Linked DNA regions of Homo sapiens: region 1 is linked to region 2. The links are contacts of gene promoters, found by promoter capture Hi-C in blood cells and fetal thymus (Javierre and others, 2016). All regions are on one chromosome and are shown on one strand. The core of a region is centred on a gene start or on the middle of the fragment in contact, and the rest is flanking DNA. Distances in the headings are between cores, read along the strand shown. Region 1 holds the start of TMEM184B (transmembrane protein 184B). Region 2 overlaps FAM227A (family with sequence similarity 227 member A).

Evidence for each region. The method cuts DNA at HindIII sites, captures the fragments that hold promoters and counts their contacts. A CHiCAGO score of 5 or more calls a contact.
Region 1: the fragment with the promoter of TMEM184B here is called in contact with a fragment that was not itself captured in region 2 in 3 of 17 cell types (M2 macrophages, M1 macrophages and M0 macrophages); the score reaches 5.8 in M2 macrophages.

Annotation. Positions count from the first base shown.
Region 1 is chr22:38,269,609-38,277,067 of GRCh38, forward strand. It overlaps TMEM184B (transmembrane protein 184B), which reads right to left and starts at 3,402. Exons shown (of 9, transcript NM_012264.5): 1 at 3,276-3,402. RefSeq lists an enhancer at 2,153-2,862 and a silencer at 2,925-3,554. The HindIII fragment of the contact is 13,147 bases long and covers 1-7,459 here.
Region 2 is chr22:38,583,853-38,591,103 of GRCh38, forward strand. It overlaps FAM227A (family with sequence similarity 227 member A), which reads right to left. Exons shown (of 17, transcript NM_001013647.2): 17 at 1-2,347. The coding sequence ends at 2,273. Among named protein-coding and RNA genes, the nearest start is that of DMC1, 17 kb to the left of the region's middle. RefSeq lists a silencer at 1,759-1,959. The HindIII fragment of the contact is 1,879 bases long and covers 1,705-3,583 here.

The sequences.
Region 1 (7,459 bases), core at 2,152-4,651, 310 kb before region 2:
ATCTCCTGGGCCCAGGAGGTAGAAGCTGCAGCAAGCTACGATAGCACCACTGCATGCCAAGCTGGGCAACAGAGCGAGACTCCATCTCAAAAAACAAAAAAAGTTCCAGCTCAGAGAAGCCAGTTCCCAGCAGGCAAGGGGTCAGCAGTGGGGCAGACACCGTTACAACAGTGGGCTCCAGAACCTGCCCTGAGTCACACAGGGTCTTCAAGACCAAAAGCTGCTAGAAGACAACAAGAGAAAGGCGGCGGGGTCTAAAAGCGATGCCAGGGGCTGTAGGAAAGCCAACGGAACAAAGGCCTGGTCTTCCAGAAGTTCTCTGCAGGAATGAAGGAGGGATGAGAAGGGATGGTAATACTGCCCCATAACACATGGCTGAGCATGTCACATCCTTCCAGAAACTTTCAAGGCCTCCCTGTTGACATCAGGATCAAGTTCAAACTCCTTGGCGGGGCCTCCAAAGGTCTTCAGGACACAGACCCAACACAGTCACAGGCAGTTCAAGCCTCTGCGTCTGAGAGGTGAGGCAGCTCAGACCTCCACATCTGCCCGGAGTTCCCTCTACCTGGAACGCCCTCCTTCTCCTTCATAGGTGGAGCACCCCTCGTCCTTCAGGGCCAAGACGACTTCCAGCACCCCAGGGTTATGGGGGAGGAGCATGGGCTCTGAGGTCAGACCTACTGGTTCAAAACTCAGCTGTTCCACTCTCTGCTGCCTCCCCTACAAAATGCAGACAGTGACAGCCCCCACCACACTGGGTGGTAGGAAAATTAAATACAGTAATTCATGAAAGCGCTTTGAACTGTGCCTGGCACACAGTAAGTGCTCAATAAACGGACTGTTGTTCCTATTGTCCTCTGGGCCCCTTTAGGGCCCTCTGTTTCCACCACAAGTAGGGCACTGTCTTGCACATATTTGTTACACATTGGGCTCCCTCTGCCAACCACCTTTTAGAGGGCTGCCCCAGCACAGTGCAGGGCAGCATGGTCTTCGGTGAGTGCTTACTACCCGGGGCTGCAGGGCCTGGTGCAGACCCCACACAGAGCTCTCCCAGGGGCCCAGCTATTGGCCTTCCAGAACTCCCACACCAGATCCCCAGTCTAAAGGCCCAGAGCTGTGACTCGTTTTCAAAACAATAAAAAGCTGTACCCTGCCTTGCCGGGGCTGTTTCCACTCCAGGGAATTTACAGAGAGAAAATGAGCACAGCAGGGACTGGAAATAGCTCTGAGCCCTTCTCAGGGTGAGGGACTGGGCAGGCCAGCCAGAGACCAGGAGCAAAACCTCTAAGACAGAGAGGGAGCAAACAGCCTCCGGACAGAAGCCCCTGCTCACAGAACTCGGCCAATAGGAAAGAACTAGGACAAGTGGCTCATTCACCCTTCTGCCTCGAAGCTCTTCTTTCTACTTGGTTGGAGAAATTCAGAAGGGGCTCTTTGAATAACCCACCACCACCGTGGGTGCAACAAATAAGACATCCAGAATCCCAACGACTGCACAAATGCTTTGGGGGAATTCACAGCGCCTTCTCCACCCACATTAGCTATTGGAGCCTCGTATCCAGATTGGGGTCACTAAATCAGTGTCCATCTTCCCAGCACTGGGAGCCCCTAGAAGGCAGGCACCAGGTCCCATTGATCATCAGACCGCTATGCCCCAGCATAGTGCCTGGCACATAGTAGATGCTCAGTAAGTTGCAAGACAAGATCTGGCAGCAAGAGAGAGGTCCTGGTTAAAGGATGATTCCATCCAGGCTTGCCACGTATCGTGGAGAAGAACGTCATGAATTCCCTCTGGGCCTCAGTTTACCGCATCTGCAAATAGGGACAACTGTTCCTTACTCACACAGCTGCTGTGCAAATTACACAGGAAAATATATGTGGAAAGCAGAAAAGCCTCAGATGAACGTCAGTCATCCTTCAGGCTTCAGCTCAACCGTCTCCTTATGAGGGAGTCTTTCCTGCGGCCACGATCCCCCTCCCCGGGAACTGAACCTGCCTCTGTACTCCTTCTACTCCTTTGTTTGGTATTTTTCACATCATCGTGATCACCTGTTTCCAAATCTGATTCCCCCATGCTTGAGAGCTCCTTGATGGCTTGGGCATCAAATGTTTCTGTCCAGGTGGGCACACATACCTGGCTGCTGGGGCTCTCCCACCCCAGCGTCCCAGGTCCCAACTCTGATACGCACAGCACCCTAGGCAAGGTTCAGAGGTGCAGAGCCTAGGGGTTCTACCAAGGAAGCTAAATAGGTAGATGGAAAGGGACACTGTAGGCATAACCTGTCAACGAAGTCACACCTCTGAGACCTGCGCTGCCTCTGCAGGTGCAGGTGAGCTTGTTTGCCTGGCTGACTCTGCAGCGCAGGGCCTCCAGGGCACAGATTGCTGCTTCTTTCCTTACAAAAGCACCAGCAGTCAGATAAATAATACATGGCCTTCACCTCACCACAGGTATCAGGCATGCAAATACCTGCTTTGCCCCAAAATGCCCTGGAAAGGAGGGAGGAGTAAAACGTCTGGCCTTATACAACACCTCCAGAGGGGATATGTATTGGGAATCCATGCCCAACCCCCAGCATAACTGCCTTGCCTTGGCCTGGAGCCACCCAGCACTGGAGGTAAGTGGATCCAAGCGAGGTACCAAGGGTGTGCCCAGGAGGAAATGTACAATTCACGGGAAGGATACAGACACCCAAAACCAGTCTCCACGGTCCCTTTGGGGGCAAACATCTTTCGAGCCCCAGGTCCCAGTCGATCCCCTTCCAAACCTGCGGACCTGTGTGGCGGGCGTGTACACCCTCCACTCACGACGCAGCCCCGAAAGCCCCCCGCCGACCACCCTCCCAGGTCACTGCCACCCGCACAGGGCACGGACGCCTCCCCCACTCACTCGGCCGTGCCAGTCGCCAGCACACCCACCCGGGAGCACACAATCCCTCTTGCAAAGCGCCTTGGTCCATCCGCCTCCCTCTCCCGGGGCCGCCCCCCGGACAGGTCCGATTACACTCCAGGAGCTGCCCCCGCCACGTTGGCGTGGAAAGGGAGCGGGCACACCCACGGGCGACCTCGCGGGGCGGAGAGGAGGCACGGGTGGGGAGACGGATGCCCCCTCCCTCCGCGGCCGCACCGGCCTCCGTAGTGCCCTCCCCGCCCGGGAGCCGGCGGCCGAAGCCGGGCGTCCCTCGCGCGGGCCTCTCCGAAACAAGCAGCCCCCCGCGCTCGGGAGTCGCAGCTCCCCCTTGGGGCTCCCGGGCGAGGCCGGCCAGGCGGGATACCTCAGGAGCCCATGGCGGTGGCGGCGTCTGCGGACGATGCGCGGCAGCCGGACTCTGCGGGCGGGGCGGGCGGCGCCGCAGCCCCGGAGTCTCCGCCGCCGCCGGCGCGTCCCGGGCCCAGTGGAGTGCAGCCGCGGCGCGCATGCGCTCTGGGCTCGCCGCCGGGGAGGGCGGGGCGGCGGACGCGGCTGAGATCACTGCCTGGGCCTTAAAGGGGCCGCGCCCCGAACCCCAGCCCGCCGCCCCGAACCCCAGCCCGCCGCCCCGCGGGTTGGGGCGCGACCCGGGTTCTCTTGCCACTCACAAAACCAGCTACGACCGGCCCCCAACCGCGAGAGCTTTCTGGGCTGCGATCTCTGCCCCTGACCCTCGCTGGTGCTTCACTTCTTTTAACCCTAATTTCCTCCATTTGAGCCTGTTTTGAAGATGAAACGAAATACAATGGCTATTTGTTGAGTGAAGGATGCGTGTGGAATTGTGGAATGAACGTGGACCGAGTGTTGTGTGCAATTAGGCCAGATGAAATGGCAAAGCACTGAAAGAGGCCTTTTTTTCCCACTCCGCTTAGCAGCGATTCTTTCTTGCCCCGTCTGGCTCTAGGCTGCCGAACTAGCAAAAGTCTTCAGATAGGGTTCAAGCCGCCTAGTCCATTTCTGTTTGCCGGTCCAGACATCACCTAGGTTAACTGAACAAGATAAAATGCAATTAAGTTCTGGCATTGATGTGCTCAAGATCCCCAAATGTATTTATGTCTCCAGACTCCTCGCCTGAACTGTCTACCCAACACCTCTTCCTTGGAGCTCCAGCAGGCATCTCAAAGTCAGCGTGTCTGAGCTGAGCCAACCCCACTTCCACACACAAAAACCTGCTCCCTCTCAGCTTTGCCTCCATCAGCTGTTGACAATTCCATCCTTCCAGTCCCCAGGCCAGAACTCGGAGTCAGCTGTGAATGAATGCCCCCCTTCTGCCCGCTACCCAATAAGGCAGGCAGGAGATCCTGTTGGCTCTACCTGCAAAATAGATCTAGACTCAGATGTCTGCCACTCCTCCTCCAGTGCTACCACCCTGGTCCAGTATTTGCACAGGATTATTGCAGAGTTCTGCTAACCCCTCTCCCTTGTTCCAGCCTTGCCCTCTGATCCATTCTATCAATTCAGGGGTGAGGGAGATCCTTTTTTTTTTTTCTCTTTTTTCTTTTTGAGACAAAGTCTCGCTCTTTGTCTCAAAGTTGCCCAGGCTGGAGTGCAGTGGCGCGATCTCGGCTCACTGCAAGCTCCGCCTCCCGGGTTCACGCCATTCTCCTGCCTCAGCCTCCCGAGTAGCTGGGACTACAGGCGCCCGCCACCATGCCCAGCTAATTTTTTGTATTTTTAGTAGAGACGGGGTTTCACCGCGTTAGCCAGGATGGTCTTGATCTCCTGACCTTGTGATCCGCCTGCCTCGGCCTCCCAAAGTGCTGGGATTACAGGCGTGAGCCACCACGCCCAGCCAAGATTCTTTTAAAATCTGCCGGGCACGGTGGCTCACGCCTGTAATCCCAGCACTTTGTGAGGTCGGGTGGCTCATTTAAGGCCAGGAGTTACAGACCAGCCTGGCCAATATGGTGAAACCTTGTCTCTGCTAAAAATACAAAAATTAGCTGGGTGTGGTGGTACATGCCTGTAGTCCCAGCTACTCTGGAGGCATGAGAATTGCTTGAACCCGGGAGGCGGAGGTTGGGTTGTGGTGAGCCAAGATCGTGCCAATGCACACCAACCTGGGTGACAAAATGAGAATCTGTCTCAAAAAATAAAATAAAATCGAAGTCAAAACATGGTACTTTTTTGCTCAAAACCCTCCATTGGCTCACTGTTTCGCTCTAAGTAAAAGCCTTACAAGTCCTTACAAACACTTGATCTGACATTCTACTCTCCTGGGGATTCCTGATCTCATTCATCTCTTACCCTTTCCCTCCACACTGATCCCTTGCTGTTCCTAGAACAAGCTGAGCACACTCAGCCCCGAGCCCCCTGCACTAGCTGTTCCCTCTGCTGCGATCGCTGTTTCCCCAGATACCTGAATGGCTCCTCCATCACCTTCTTCAAGGGTTTGCTCGAATGTCCTCCACTTAGTGAGGCCTGCTGTGAGCACCCCTAGTAAAACTACCAGACCCCTCACATGCACTCTGTATTTCCCTTTACCGTGCCCTACTTTCCCTGTCACTTCATTTCTTTCTTTCTTTCTTTTTTTTTTTGAAGCGGAGTCTCGCTCTGTCACCCAGGCTGGAGTGCAATGGTGCTATCTCGGCTCACTGCAAGCTCCGCCTCCCGGGTTCATGCCATTCTCCTGCCTCAGCCTCAGAGTAGCTGGGACTACAGGCGCCCACCACCATGCCTGGCTAATTTTTTGTATTTTTAGTAGAGACGGGGTTTCACCGCGTTAGCCAGGATGGTCTCGATCTCCTGACTTCGTGATCCGCCTGCCTCAGCCTCCCAAAGTGCTGGGATTACAGGCGTGAGCCACCCTGTCACTTCATTTCTATCATATTATATAGTTTGCCTGTTTCCCTGTGTGTCTTCTTCTAGTAGAACACAAAATTTTTCGGTTTTGTTTTTTTGTTTTTGAGACAGTCTCTGTCACCCAGGCTGGAGTGCAGTGGCACAATCTCAGGTCACTGCAACATCCGCCACTCAGGCTCAAGTGATCCTCCCACCTCAGCCTCCTGGTTAGCTGGGATTATAGGCATGTGCCACCATACCAGGCTAATTTTTGTATTTTTTTTTTTTTTTTTTTTTTTTTGTAGAGATGGGGTTTCGCTATGTTGCCAGGGCTGGCCTCAAACTCCTGGGCTCAAAGCAATTGCCCGTCTAGACCACTCAAAGTGCTGAGATTACGGGTGTGAGCCACTGTGTGCCTGGCCAATAAATTCTGAAGAGAAAGATTTTCATCCTTTTTGGCTTTTTTGTTGTTGTTGTTGTTTGAGATGGAGTCTCACTCTGTCACCCAAGCTGGAATGCAGTGGTGCAATTTTGGCTCACTGCAGCCTCAACCTCCCAGGTTCAAGCGATACTCTTGCCTGTGCCTCCCAAGTATCCTTTTTGTTTTCTGATGTAATCCCAGTACTTAGTACAGGGTCTGGCATAGAGAACATGCCCCCGCAAAAGTAGGTATAACATGACCAGAGATCTGGTAATAGCAAAATCCTATAGAACGATTCCTCCCCAGCCCCAGGTAGGACATGCCTGGGTCTGTCCTAACAAGAGTAAGGCTTATCAATTGCATTGTAACTTGTTTATGACTTCCCAGCTCTCCCTCCCTACACACTAACCCCTTCAGGAGGAAGTCTTTGTCCCAATTACCCACCATATCTGCAATGTGTAGTACAAGACACTTACAGACCAGACACAACCTGACTTACACTTCCCCTCCAGGGCTTTCAGTTCAGGGTCTTGGTTTCTGCTTAGGGGCACTCTTGGGTCTCAACTTACAGAGGCCCCGGGCTGGCAGGGGACAGAGGCAGGTGGTGGGTATTTTTAGGCTTGGTTGCCCGGAAGGGGCTCAAAGACAGAAAGTCACCTGGTCTGAGTGATATGGCAGGTCAGCAGGTGGTATTGGGGGCCCTAGTTGGTGCTCCCTGTGGGAGGAAAAAAGCCCTCTCAAGACCTTTACTCAGGTTTTCCAAAATGAAGATAAACACCTACCTTGCTATCTTCCCTCTCACCCCTCCTCCATGCAACTACCCATCCTTTCTTTCTTGGGTTTTGCTCTCTCACCCAGGCTGGGGTGCAATGGTTTGATCATAGTTCATTGCAGCCTCAAACTCCTGGGCTCAAGCAATCCTCCACCTCTGCCTCCCAAGTAGCTAGGACTACATGGGCATACCATCACGCTCAGCTAATTTTCTATTTATTTATTTATTTATTGACAGAGTCTTGCTCTGTTGCCCAGGCTGGAGTGCAGTGGCGCGATCTCGACTCCCTGCAACCTCCCAGGTTCAAGCGATTCTCCTGCCTCAGCCGCCCGAGTAGATGGGATTATAGGCACGCGCCACTACGACCAGCTAATTTTTTTTTGTATTTTTTTAATGGAGACAGAGTTTCACCATGTTGCCCAGGGTGTTCTCAAACTCCTGAGCTCCGGCAATCCGCCCACCTTGGCCTCCCAAAGTGCTAGGATTACAGGCGTGAGCCACTGCACCTGGCCTA
Region 2 (7,251 bases), core at 1,394-3,893:
CATTTCCCAAGATCTGCTTATCTGCTGCTTGGTTTGGGCAAACAGCCATCTGCACCATTTCTTTCCTCTTGGCTGTGACAGGTGAACTGTTCTAGCACAGACCAGGTCACTGCCTTGTGCCTTGAAGCTCAAATGATAAAACCTATGCCCTTCAGCCCAGCTGCTGGTCCTTTGGCAAACCAACCCCTGTGCCTGTGCCCCTCAGTGAAATATCTTCTGTCCCAAAGGGCTGCTGGCACACTGGCTTCATCTGCCTTGGTTTTTCTCAGATTCCACGCAGCTTTCTATCGGAGCATTAATGCATTTATTGGTTTACACATCCTTCTCTTTTTTCCAGATTGTGAGCCCCATAAGGTCAGGGACTGTGTCTTTATTTATCTCTGTATTCACAGGGCCTAGTGCAGGGATGGTACAGAATAGACATCTAGCAAATACCTAATCATCCCCCCCAAGTCCGTTTCTTCCTAGGAGAAAATGGAGGTAACAATATCCATCTTGGGGGACACCAGGAAGGTTAACTGAGATAATGTCTAAACCAGACTTAGCAGAGCACTCAGCACATACTAAGTACTCAATAAATGACATCACCTATGATTACTATTATTATGTTATACAATATTAGATACTCCAGGCCAGGTGTGGTGGCTCACACTTAGAATCCCAGTGCTTTGGAAGGACAAGGCAGGAGGATTACTTGAAGCCAGGAGTTCGAGACCAGCCTGGGCAACACAGTGAGATCCCATCTCTACAAAAAAATTTCTTTAAAAATTAGCCAGACATGGTGGCATACCTGTAGTCCTAGCTACTTGGGAGGCTGAGGTGGGAGGATTGCTTCAGCCCAGGAATTTGAGGTTGCAGTGAGCTATGACTGCGCCACTGCATTCCAGCCTGGACAACAGACTGAGAGTCTGCCTCTAAAAAATTTAATTTAGTTAAAATTAATTAAAAAAAATTTTTTTTTGAGACAGAGTTTCGCTCTTGTTGCCCAGGCTGGAGTGCAATAGCATGGTCTTGGCTCACTGCAACCTCCGCCACCTGGGTTCCAACGATTCTTCTGCCTCAGCCTCCCGAGTAGCTGGGATTACAGGTGCCCGCCACAACATCCAGCTAATTTTTGTATTTTTAGTAGAGATGGGGTTTCACCATGTTGGCCAGGATGGTCTCGAACTCCTGACCTCGTGATCTGCCCACTTCAGCCTCCCAAAGTGCTGGGATTACAGGTGTGAGCCACCACGCCTGGCCTAATTTAAAATTTTTTAATTAAAAAAATTAATTTACATTTAAATCCTGACTTTTGCTATGGTAGGAATGAACTTTACTATTCCTTGTCTCATGAACTGGGAGTGACTAAATGTGTCCCTAGTTGCAGTATTATTTTTTGTTTTCTTATTTCTATTTTAGATTAAATCAGACAACATGTGCATGCTTTACCTATAAAGTTTCTCTCAATTCTTGGACAAAGATTCACTCAAATGAGCTGGAAGGTGAGAGGTTAAGAAGGCAGAAGCCTGGGAGTCACACAGAAACACATTACAGATGTCATGTCCCTGGGCTGAGTTTAGAAAAGACAAGATGTTTGCCAGGCAGAAAGAGGGCATATTGGAAATAGGCTGGCAATCCCAGTGGTTAGAGGAGCAGGAGGCAAAGGTTCAGAGGCAGCATAATAGAAGCGCCTATCAAATTATCAAATTAATAGTTCCACAAAGCTTGTTACAAAAAATTGCACTCCTCTAGGCCCATTTTCCTTTTCCCTCACAACACTTTTCTCTTTTTCCTCTGTCCAATACTTACAGCATTTAATGTGTTGATACATCTGTCTTCCCTCTACCAGATGGTGACTCCCTTGAGAACAGGGACTGTGTCTTATCTACTGTTAATTACCCAGTGTCTACAGCAGAGAACTTCGGAAACCTTTCTAAACCTGGGCTTGCTGCTGCGTAAAATGCAGTGGATAATCCCTACTTCATACGGCTGGTATGAAAGTTTTACCTTTGTATGAGGTCATATTTGTAACATACTTACCAGCATGCACGTAATAAAATACTGAAAGAGTAAATCTATGAATAAATGTAGTGACCCAAGCACCAACTCTCTACTCCTGCTTTTCACTCAGCCTAGGAAAAACTACAACGGAATCCTTCCCCTATGGAGAAATCATGATTCCTATTTCTGTCTTTGGCCACAATTTTCTTATTTTCTTGTTCCACTCCACCTCGTAGCAGAAATATCACGGATTCTGTAGGCGCTTCCTGGTTCTAGGTTGTGGAGCTCCTCAGGGCTTGGAAGTGAGTGGAAAGAAATGTTCAACTTCTGTTTCTCTTCTCTTTCCCTCTCCTCCTTTCCCCTCCTGTGGGGGAAACAAACGAACAAAAACAAAAATTAATTTAAAAAATGTAATTTCTTCAAAGACTTTGCACGTGAGCAGTGGCGTGGCCAGTGGTGATCCTTGTGTGCATGGAATATTGAGGGCGTGCTCCTGCCTCCAGAGAAAGTGGTCGAGCAGGACAGCTGGCATCCACGGCTTCCACATCCCCAGTGCCTCCATCCTTCATCTTTCACCAGTACTGACAGGAACACTGCTGTGTCGGATCTGAACTGGGCCCCAAAAACCTCTAGGTAGCAGGCAGGTACTACTCCATTGGAGGTGACATCCCTCTGGTGACGCTGAAAACCTGGATTGTGTTTTCTAACTCTGTCTATCTGCTTCACACCTCCAGATGTGAATCTTCAGAATATTATTTGCTGGGCTATGGGATGGAGACTAGTCTCACAAGCCTAAAGGACTTCCTTTAATATTTCACGAAAGCATTACATTTATTTTTTTCTTTCTTTTTTGGGACGGAGTATCGCTCTGTTGCCAGGCTGGAGTGCAGTGGCGCGATCTCAGCTCACTGCAACCTCTGACTCCCGGGTTCAAGTGATTTTCCTGCCTCAGCTTCTCAAGTAGCTGGGATTATAGGCATGCACCACCATGCCCAGCTAATTTGTTTTTTGTATTTTTTTTTTTAGTAGAGACAGGGTTTCACTATGTTGACCAAGATAGTCTCAATCTCCTGACCTCGTGATCCGCCTGCCTTGGCCTCCCAAAGTGCTGAAATTACAGGCATGAGCCACTGTGCCTGGCCTACACTTCTTCTATTTAGGTTCACTGTCCGTATTTGGAAAGAACATGCTACAACTTGAAGGAGAGATCACAAGATATACTAAAAAATATTTTGAAATAAAAACAAAAACATAACACAATAAAACTTATGGAGTGCAGCAAAAGCAGTGCTAAGAGGGAAATTTATAGCCATAAATGCCTATGTTTTAAAAACAAGAAACATCTCAAATCAATAACTTCACTTTATGACTTATGGGCCTAGCAAAAGAAGCACAAACTAAATCTGAAGCTGGTAGAAGGAAGGAGATTAAGATTAGAGCAGAGGACGTGAAATAGAGAATAGAAAAAATAGAAAGTCAATTGAAAGAAACAAAATGTTAGTTATCAACAAAATTAACAAACTTTGAGTTTGAATGACTACCAAGAAAAGGACACACATAGATGAAAGTGAGAACATGATTACCGACCTTACAGAAATAAAGCTTGTAAGAGAATACAAATGCCAATAAATTATATAGCCTATATGAAATGGAAAACTAGAAATACACAAATTACCAAAACTGACTCAAGAAAAAAATAAAAATTCTGCATAGACTTATAACAAATAAAACGATTGAATCAATAATCAAAAATCTCCCTTTGAACAAAGAAAAGTGAAAGACTACAGGGCTTCATTTGTGAATTCTACCAAACCATTAAGGAAGAATTAACACCAATTCTTCTCAAGCTCTTCCAAAAAATAGAAGAGGTAACAGTATTTCATAGCTCATTTTATGGGGCCAGCATTATACTGATACCAGAACTAGACAAAGAAATGACAAGAAAAGAAATTATAGACCACTCTTCCTTAAGAATACAAATGCAGAGATCTTCAACAAATACTAAAATATTAAAAGGATTATACACTAGGAACAAGTGGGATTTATCCCAGGTAGTTCCCCTCAGTGAAACATAAATCGATCAGTGTATAGAGCACAATAAAAGAATGAAGGGAAAACCCTACATAATTATCTCAAATGATGCAGAGAAAGCATTTGACAAGAACCAACAGCATTTCATGATAATAAACAATCAGAAAAATAGGAATAGGATGGAATTACTCCAACATGATTATGGACATTTATGATAAACCCACAGATAACAGCACACTCAATGGTTAAAGACTGAAAGCCTTTCCCTAGGACCAGGGACAGGACAAAATGCCTCCTTTCATGGCTGGTATTCCACTTTGTATCAGAAGCTCTAGACAGATAATTAGGCAAGAAATGAAAGGCATCCAAATTGGAAATGAAGAAGTAAAACTATCTTTATTTACAGATAGCATGATTCTATACGTTGAAAATGCCAACACAGCAAGACCCTGTCTCTACAAAGAAATTTTAGCCAGGCGCGGTGGCTCATGCCTGTAATCCCAGGACTTTGGGGGGCCGAGGTGGGTGGATCACCTGAGGTCAGGAGTTCGAGACCAGCCTGGCCAACATGGTGAAACCCCATCTCTACTAAAAATGCAAAAATTAGCCGGGCGTGGTGGTGCACACCTGTAGTCCCAGCTACTCAGGAGGCTGAGGCAGGAGAATCATTTGAACCCGGGAAGTGGAGGTTGCAGTGAGCCGAGATTGCACCACTGCACTCCAGCCTGGGTAACAGAGTGACTCTGTCTAAAAAAAAAAAAAAAAAAAAAAAAATGCTGGGCGCAGTGGCTCACGCCTGTAATCCTAGAACTTTGGGAGGCCGAGACGGGTGGATCACGAGGTCAGGAGTTCGAGACCATCCTGGCTAACAGTGAAACCCCGTCTCTACTAAAAATACAAAAAAAAAAAAAAATAGCCAGGTGTGGTAGCAGGTGCCTGTAGTCCCAGCTACGTGGGAAGCTGAGGCAGGAGAATGGCATGAAGCTGGGAGGCGGAGGTTGCAGTGAGCCAAGATCGCGCCACTGCACTCCAGCCTGGGCGATAGAGCAAGACTCCATCTCAAAAAAAAAAAAAAAAGAAAAAAAGAAGAAGAAGAAAGCTGTTATAGGTTTTGGGGAATATGTTCCCCAAAAGACATGTTAAGGTTGTAAACCCCAGTACCCGTGAATAAGACCTTTTTTGGAAATAGTCTTTGCAGATGTAATCAAGTTCAATGAAGACATTAGGGTGGGCCTTTATCCAATATGACTGCTGTCTTTAGAAGAATAGATGCAGACAGACATGAAGAAGGCCAGGTGATGACAGAGGCAGAGATTGGAGTGAGGCCTCTACAAGCCAAGGACAGCCACGGACTGCTGGCAACCGCACGAAGCTAGGGAGAGGCAAAGGAAGACTACCCTGAACCCCGCACAGGAAGCATGGCCCTGCTGACACCTTGACTTTGGACTTCGGCCTCCAGAACTGTGAGAAAATACATTTACGTTGTTTGAAAAAGAAAAGAAATATATATACAGATGCCAAGAGGAGAATGAAGAAAGATAAGAAAATTAAAGGATCAGTCCAGCAGGTCTGACAATTGACTATCATAGTTCCAGAAATAGCAAAGAAAATGAAGGAAATTTTCTAAGAAATAATACAAGCAAAATTCTCAGAATTGAAGGACTCTACCCTCTGGACTGAGAGCACTCCCGACCTCAGTGACGCATATTAAGAAAAGGACTCATACCAAGGTATATCATTGTGAAACTTCAGGATACTAAGAATGAAGACAATATCCTAGAAGTTCCCACAGCTGGGAAGACAGTGACCCACAAAGCCATAGGAATCAGAATAGCGTGAGACTTCTCAACAGTAAAAGCAGCAGGCAGGAAAAATTCTCCAAAATTCTGTAGAATATTGACTTTTAACTTAGAATTTTATTTCCAGCAAAACATTTGCCAAATATCAATCAAGAACAAAGACATTTTTTCATGTCTGTAATCCCAGCACTTTGGGAGGCCAAGGCGAGAGGACTGCTTCAGCTCGGGAGTTCGAGACCAGCCTGGGCAACACAGCAAGATCTCATCTCTTAAATAATTATTTTAAAAATAGAACAAAGGGCCGGGAATGGTGGCTCACACCTGTAATCCCAGGGCTTTGGGAGGCTGAGGCGGGCGGATCACCTGAGGTCAAGAGTTTGAGACTAGCCTGGCCAACATGGTGAAACCTCATCTCTGCTACACAAAACAAAACAAAACAAAACAAAACAAAAAAACGAAAAAAATTAGCTGGGCATGGTGGCACGCGCCTGTAGTCCCAGCTACTCAGGGAGGCTGAGGCAGGAGAACTGCTTAGACCCAGGAGGAGGAAGTTGCAGTGAGCCAAGATTGTGCCACTGCACTCCAGCCTGGGTGACAGAAGGAGACTCCATCTCAAAAAAAAAAAAAAAAAAAAAAAGATGTTTTGGATATGCAAAGACTCAAATAATTTCCCATATACCTTCGTTTTGGGAACTGCTAGAAGATGTGCTCCAGCAAAGTGGACATGGCTTTTTAGGTCAGGACTATAAGGAGACAGACTTGGGCTGTCCATGGCCCTGAGGCAGAGGCAGCTTGAAAAAGAAGTCAGCCCACAGAAGGGAAGAGGATCAAGAGACAGACAGAGAAAGAGCCTGAAAATATCAAGCTGTCAGGTCTAATATGCCTGCAGATGGCCTATCATGACCTTCCCAGTTATTTAAGCTGCTACATTCTCCTTCCATTTAAGCTAGTTTGAGCTGGCTTCCTGGCACATGCAACCAAGGAGCTCTGTCTCATACAGTTCATGAAGTACATAGGCCAACACTTGGTACAGAGGAAGTACAAAATCATTAGTAGCCCTTACTACTACCAATAATAACACTAAAACTAAAATGAGAGTGGTGTGAGTAATACATAAAAGTAAGTGAACTTTTTTTTTGAGACGGAGTCTCATTCTGTCTCCAGGATGGAGTGTAGTGGCGTGATCTCGGCTCACTGCAACCTCCAGCTCCCGGGTTCAAGCGATTCTCCTGCCTCAGCCTCCCGAGTAGCTGGGATTACAGGCACGTACTGCCATGCCCAGCTAATTTTTGTATTTTTAGTAGAGATGGGGTTTCACCATGTTGGCCAGGATGGTCTCGATCTCCTGACCTCATGATCCGCCCACCTCGGCCTCCCAAAGTAGTGGGATTACAGACGTGAGCCACAGTGCCTGGCCATAAGTGAACTTTTATATGCT